2 separate regions of the Homo sapiens genome follow, and region 1 is linked to region 2. The links are contacts of gene promoters, found by promoter capture Hi-C in blood cells and fetal thymus (Javierre and others, 2016). All regions are on one chromosome and are shown on one strand. Each heading gives the region's core, a stretch centred on a gene start or on the middle of the fragment in contact. The rest is flanking DNA. Distances are from core to core; before and after follow the strand shown.

Region 1 (3,029 bases), core at 96-2,595, 63 kb after region 2:
TAGTGCACTAATTTAGTGGAAAGAAACCACTGTGGCTTTTTCAGGTGCCAGATTTCTTTTTCTGGTTCTTTGTCATCTATGTAGGCTGTTGTTCTTTTACCTTTGGTGTAATTTGAGTACAGCCAGTAGACTTATTTTCTGGATGTTTTCAGAGGGTGAAGGCTTTGTGTGGGGTCTTTAATTTTAGCTGAATTTTTGTCCTTGTTTCACAGGGCCTATATTAGGAAAGTGCTTTTGGTGCTGAAGTTTTGATCTGTGATCCAATAGTTGGTGCTTATGTGTAATGGCAAGTAGGTAGCTTCTTGCTCATCCACGGGGTCCTCTGTGTTTCCTCATGATTTCAGTCATTCTCCCTCTCAGTGCTTTGAAAGTGTGGAATCTTCTCCCTCTTGAGTGCTGGCTGCAGATGTTGGCTTGGCACTCCAAGGCAGCATACCACAGGTCTGGAAGCAAGCTCGGGATTTATATTTCCTCTTCAGCATGGAGGCAGCAGGGGAAGGGAACTTAGCGATGGTTATGGCAGTGGGCCTTTCACTTGTCTCTGGAAGCTTCACATGACAAAGATGCAGGGCTGCTATCAATCAGTTCAGTCAGGCTGGAATGGGGCAGCTGTTCTGTGAGCCCAAACCAGGGAGCCCTGACTGGTAATGAGCAGGGGTTTGGGTGGGTCACTGGGGAGACAGACTGGCCTCTTAAGACAACTGCAGCTTTCTGGAGGTGCTGTTAACCTATCCAGAGTCCTCGACCCTTCTCTATTCCGAGGGCAGCAAGGACAGTACACCTGCAGTGGCAGTGGGAAAGGGGCTTTCAGTTGCCTCTGGGGGCTACACCTCAGAGAAACTTGGAGTTGCCACTACTGCGAATGTTCAGCCAAGGGTTGTGGTGGCCACACTGCTGGCCTGAGCTGATGGCTCTGCTTGTTGAGGAGCAGGGGTTCAGTGGCTTACAGGGAGGTGAAACTGAGTTCCTCTTTATATGGTGACTGGGTGTGTGGTGTGTGGGTGAGGTCTTCAGGATCTTTATTTCCTCACCTGACCAAGGGCAGCAGGGGCAGAATCACTGCTGTTGCAGTGGCAGAGGGGCTGTCAGTTACCTGTGGGAGCCCCTTCCCAGGGAAACCCAAAGCCACTACCAGTGGTTGTGCTCAGCCGTGGGTTAGATGGCTGATCTGTATTCCTGAGCCAGGGGCGCTGTCTGTTGATGAGTGGGAGATGGGGGCTCACAGAGAAGAGGGACTGGATTTGTTTCTGTGTGGTGACTGTGGTGTGCTGGATGTGTCAAGTTAGTGACTAGTCCCTTTGTTCCTTCCACAGCCCTACGGCATCAGGGTGGCACTACTGCAGTTGCAATGGTGAAATGGTTGTGGGTAGTCTCTGAGATTTCCTCCTCACAGAACTGCAGAGCCACCTCCAAAGTAAGTGTTCAGGTAGGGGCAGGGTAGTCGTGTTCTTTATTATGTTAAACATACCTACCTTGCCTTTGGCAGTTTGGTGCTGCCACTTGCCTCCTGCCACACTGCTATCCAATTACTTCCATTGCATCTAAGTTTCCCAATTCAGTTACTGCATTATCCTCTGTAAGATCTGGCCTACAGAGAAGAGTGATCAAAATTCTTCAGGGATCCTGGGACTTCCTGTAATCGATTTATTTTTTCTCAGTTTTGGTGAAAGGTACATCTCCTGGACCGTCCCAGTGTGAATAATTAAGTCTTAATATTAGAGTAGACAAATCTACTCTAATATTCCAGACTCTCTAAGCCTTTAAATACTTTTCTCTACATTGAGCCGAAGCAGGTGGACAATTTCCAATTCACTCACTTTGAGCCTCCTTTGGGTTCATATTTTGGGCAACCAACCAAACAAACGCAAATCATATCACAATGGAATTAAACTAGAAAAAGTAACTGAAAGATAGCTAGAAAATTTTTTAGAATTATAAATTAAACAATAAACTTCTAAATAGCAGATTGGTCGAAGAAGTCTCAAGAGAAATTTTAAAAATATTTTGAACTGAATGAAAATGAAAACACAACTTATTAAAATATGTGAGATTCAGTGATAGCAATGATTAACACAAAACTTATAGCATTGAATTCGTATATTAGAAAAAAAGAAAAACCTAAAATGAATGGTATAAGCTTCCTTTTCAGGATACTGTAGAAAGAAAAACAACATAAACTGAAAGCAAAGAGAAGAAAAAAGTAAAATTTAGAGTAGAATTCAATGAAATTGAAACAAGAAAACAGTAAAGAAAAATAATAAAATCAAAAGCTGGTTCTTTCAGAAGATCAATAAAATTGATAAACCTCTAGCTAGGCTAATCAAGAAAAAATAGAGGAAATACAAATTAGTATTAACCTCTGAAATGATAAACGCTCCATCATTACTGACTCCAATGAACATTAAAAGGGCAGTAAATGAATATTATTAATAACTGCACACTTAAAAATTTGATGATTTAGATTTAATTTTAAAAATTCCTTGAAAGTTACAATCTATACAGCTAGCACAAAAGGAAAAAGATAATCTATATATTCCTTTATTAAAGAAATTACATCACTAATTAATAACTCTCTAAAACAGAAAGCACCAGACCAGATGAGTTTACTGTAGAACTCTACCAACCATTTAAGGATGAAATTGTGCCAATTCCCTGTAATCTTGTCCAGAAGATGGAAACTGAGGGAACACTTTCTAACTCATTGTGAGTTCAGAATAAAACCAGATAAAAGCATTACAAGAGAGAAAAACTACAGATCAGTGTCTCTCATGAACATAGATAGAGAAATCCTCAACATAATGTCGGGTAATCAAATTCAGCAATGAATAAAAATGTATACACTATGTCTATGTGGGATTTATTCTAGATATTTATGCTAGTTCAACATTTAAATATCAGTTATTTGTAGTCTTTCACATAAACATGCTAAAAATACATGATAATATCAATAGATGCAAAAAAAGCATATGATAAAATCTAAAACCCATGAATGATAAAAACTCTTCAGAAATGAAGAATAAAGAGGAACT
Region 2 (2,985 bases), core at 79-2,578:
TTGCTCTATCCCTGGTTCTGACCTCAGCCGCCCGCTCTTCTGGGAATTTGAATCTGCCAACATACACCTGGCGGTTGTTGAGCCGCACTCCATTCATGTGCCAGATGGCTCTATTGGCAGCGGCCAGGCTGTCAAAGTGAACATAGGCATAACCCTTAGAGCCGTTGTCATCGCATACGACTTTGCAGGACAGAATGTTCCCAAAAGCAGAAAATAAGTAAAACAGGGCCCTATTGTCTATGGATTTGTCCAGGTTTTTGATGAATATATTTCCCACTCCAGACTTTCTTAAGCGGTCATCTGGCTGAGACCACATAAGGCGGAATGGTTTTCCATTAATCAAATCAAAATTCATGGTGTTCAAGGCCCACTCTGCATCCGCGGGAAAGCGGAAGTTAACATACCCATAGCCCAGGGGGCTGCGGGTCACCGGATCACGGCAGATTCGGGTGAATCGCAGAGGGCCAGCAGGCCTGAACTTCTTATAGAGCATGTCCTCGGTGACATCTGGGTCCAAGTCACCCACGTACAGAGCGGCCTTGAGATACTTCTTTTTCTTGCCAGCAGGATTAGGCTCCCCGCTCCCCATCTCTCTGAGCACTGGGAGGAGGTTCTCTTTGAAGAGAAAAAAGGCTGCTTTCTCTAAGCTATGGGCCAAACAGCTGTTCACGAACAGAAAAAGCCAAGGCAGGCAAAAGGAAGCTAAAAGCAGACTCAGAATCACTGTCGAGGCTGAGAAAATGAAGTTCAGAAACAGCTGGTCAGCAGGCTCAGAACAAACACATCAGACAAAAAGGCGCCCCAAATACGAATCTATTCTCCCTGCGGGGACTTAAAATTGTCACCCGTTCAGATTTAAAATCAGTTTCAAAAGCCAGTACCAGAAACGTAATTTTCCTGTCCCCGTGAAATTGTGAGAAGCCACCAAGCAGCTGGCTGGTTCCCCACAACTAGCATTGCAGACAGAGGCCTCCCGACCCGCTTTCTGCATAAATATAGGCCTAGAGCTCCTGTTGGTTTAAAATGATATCAACAAGGGCAGGGACCGAGCGCGTATTCCTCCGCCGGCTGCCTGGCCAGTCTCGGGCTGGCTAGCCTTTCGCTAAGGCCTCTCCGCACTCAGCGTCTGCGAAAGGGTACACCAGACACTTGGTGCGATAAGACCGGCAGGCAGGCTGCAGGCAGCGGATAGGACACAGAGACAGACAGACAGACACACGCGCGGGGGATCGAAGACCGCCCAGATACCCAAGATGCCCACTGGGTACGGACCGAGTGAGGCGCGGTGATTTCAGCAGCCTGAGGCTCGAGGCAGGTCCGGAGAGACTGACTGGCAAACGCGCAGTGAGTGGGTCAGCTCTGACGCGAGGCGGGTCTGGCCAGATGCGGGGCGGAGTCAGCGAAGAAGGGCAGATGCGCGGCGGGCGGTCCCAGCGCAGACCGATGGGCTGGGGTTTCTCTCCGCAGGACAGTCCAACGGAGGGACCAAGAGCCAGTAGCAGTGATAGGGAGGGGGGACAGGCGGGGCGCGAGAAACCCGGAACCGTGCTAAGTAACTTCCCGCTTCCTCTGTACCAAGATTTAAAAAAAAAGAGAGAGAGAGAAGGGGGGAGAGAGAGAGAGAGAGAGAGAGAGAGAGAGAAGGGGAGAGAATGAGAGAGAGAGAGAGAAGGAGAGAAAGAAAAATCTAAGATGGCTTTTAGATGTTTCTTATATTTTAAATGTTATTTATTATTTAAAACACTATATTTAAGCCGAACATCTAAAAATCACATAAGAAGATGACGACCTGGGCAAAAATAATAAGTTTTAAAAAACTAATTATCAAAATCATTTAAGCTTAGGGAAAAGGATAGGTTGCATACTTTCCTGAGTGCATTGGAAAGTCAAAGTTTACAAATGTCCTGGCCTCCCAATCCAGTGCTAAAGGATCACAGGGTCAAGTAGAACACAGGACCATGTTGCCTTTGGCCTTTAGCCTTACTTCATTAATCTCCAACATAATGGTAATATTTTCCTCAGGTGGTAGGCAAAGAGATCTTTTCTCTGATCCCATAATACTAAGGTTTTAATGATTGGAGAGCCATATAATGGCTTTTGATGGTGTTTAGTGCCACAAAACGTTGAAACTGTTGAGCTGCCGCGAGAATTACAGTTACAAAATCTCAGTTAAAGAGATAAAAGCCACAGAATCAATACAAAATATGTAATTAATATTTACAGATGAAATAAACATGTTAAGATATATGCACTTTACACAATTATGAATTTCATCATGAGTTGTCAACTTGAAACCCTTGAAGGAAACAGTGCCATCAGACTGGACTCAACTCAGCAGTTTCTCAACAATATCTCTCTTCAGAGTATTTGAGAAACCCTTTTGGAGAGAAATTTTGACCGTGTTTTCAGAAATTCACTGATATCTAGCATGCGCAAACAACACTTCAAGAGGCTCCTTCCACAATTCCTACCCCTCCAGAAAAATCCAAACAAAACATCTATCACTACTCTTAGGCTGGAAAAGATCCTGGGAAAAAAAGATTGCAAGAGAAGGACATTACCTTAGTGGGTGTTTTCCTAATAAGTCCTCAGAATAAGAGGCTAAATTAACGTATTCATTCACTTTATACATTTTATAGTGTCTATTAGACTGTAGAGTTGACATTAAACCTCATTATTTACTCAAAAACTTAGTAATTTTCTTTACTATTTTTTTTTTTTGCTTGCTTTCTAGTGTTCTTGGTTAACTAAGACATGGAGATTTTGAGAAAAGGCAAATATGAACAATGATATTATAGACTAATAAATGGGTTTTACAGTGTGACCAGAGTGACCAACATGTGGAAACACTTGTGAACATCTGCCTAGTTTATTGCATTTTGAATATATTTTTATAAACATATTTTCTTTTATGCGTAATTAACAATGGGTTAGAATTCTAGTCTGTTTTGGACTTTTCTCATTTTTAAAACTGCCTTATTGAAA

Evidence for each region. The method cuts DNA at HindIII sites, captures the fragments that hold promoters and counts their contacts. A CHiCAGO score of 5 or more calls a contact.
Region 1: a fragment that was not itself captured here is called in contact with the fragment with the promoter of PABPC5 in region 2 in 1 of 17 cell types (total CD4 T cells); the score reaches 6.8 in total CD4 T cells.

What each region holds. Positions count from the first base shown.
Region 1 is chrX:91,370,192-91,373,220 of GRCh38, reverse strand. No RefSeq gene overlaps it. Among named protein-coding and RNA genes, the nearest start is that of PABPC5, 63 kb to the left of the region's middle. The HindIII fragment of the contact is 1,589 bases long and covers 551-2,139 here.
Region 2 is chrX:91,433,182-91,436,166 of GRCh38, reverse strand. PABPC5 (poly(A) binding protein cytoplasmic 5) reads right to left here and starts at 1,328. Exons shown (of 2, transcript NM_080832.3): 1 at 1,273-1,328; 2 at 1-732. The coding sequence starts at 589. It overlaps PABPC5-AS1 (PABPC5 antisense RNA 1), which reads left to right and starts at 1,168. Exons shown (of 4, transcript NR_110659.1): 1 at 1,168-1,264. The HindIII fragment of the contact is 4,445 bases long and covers 1-1,841 here.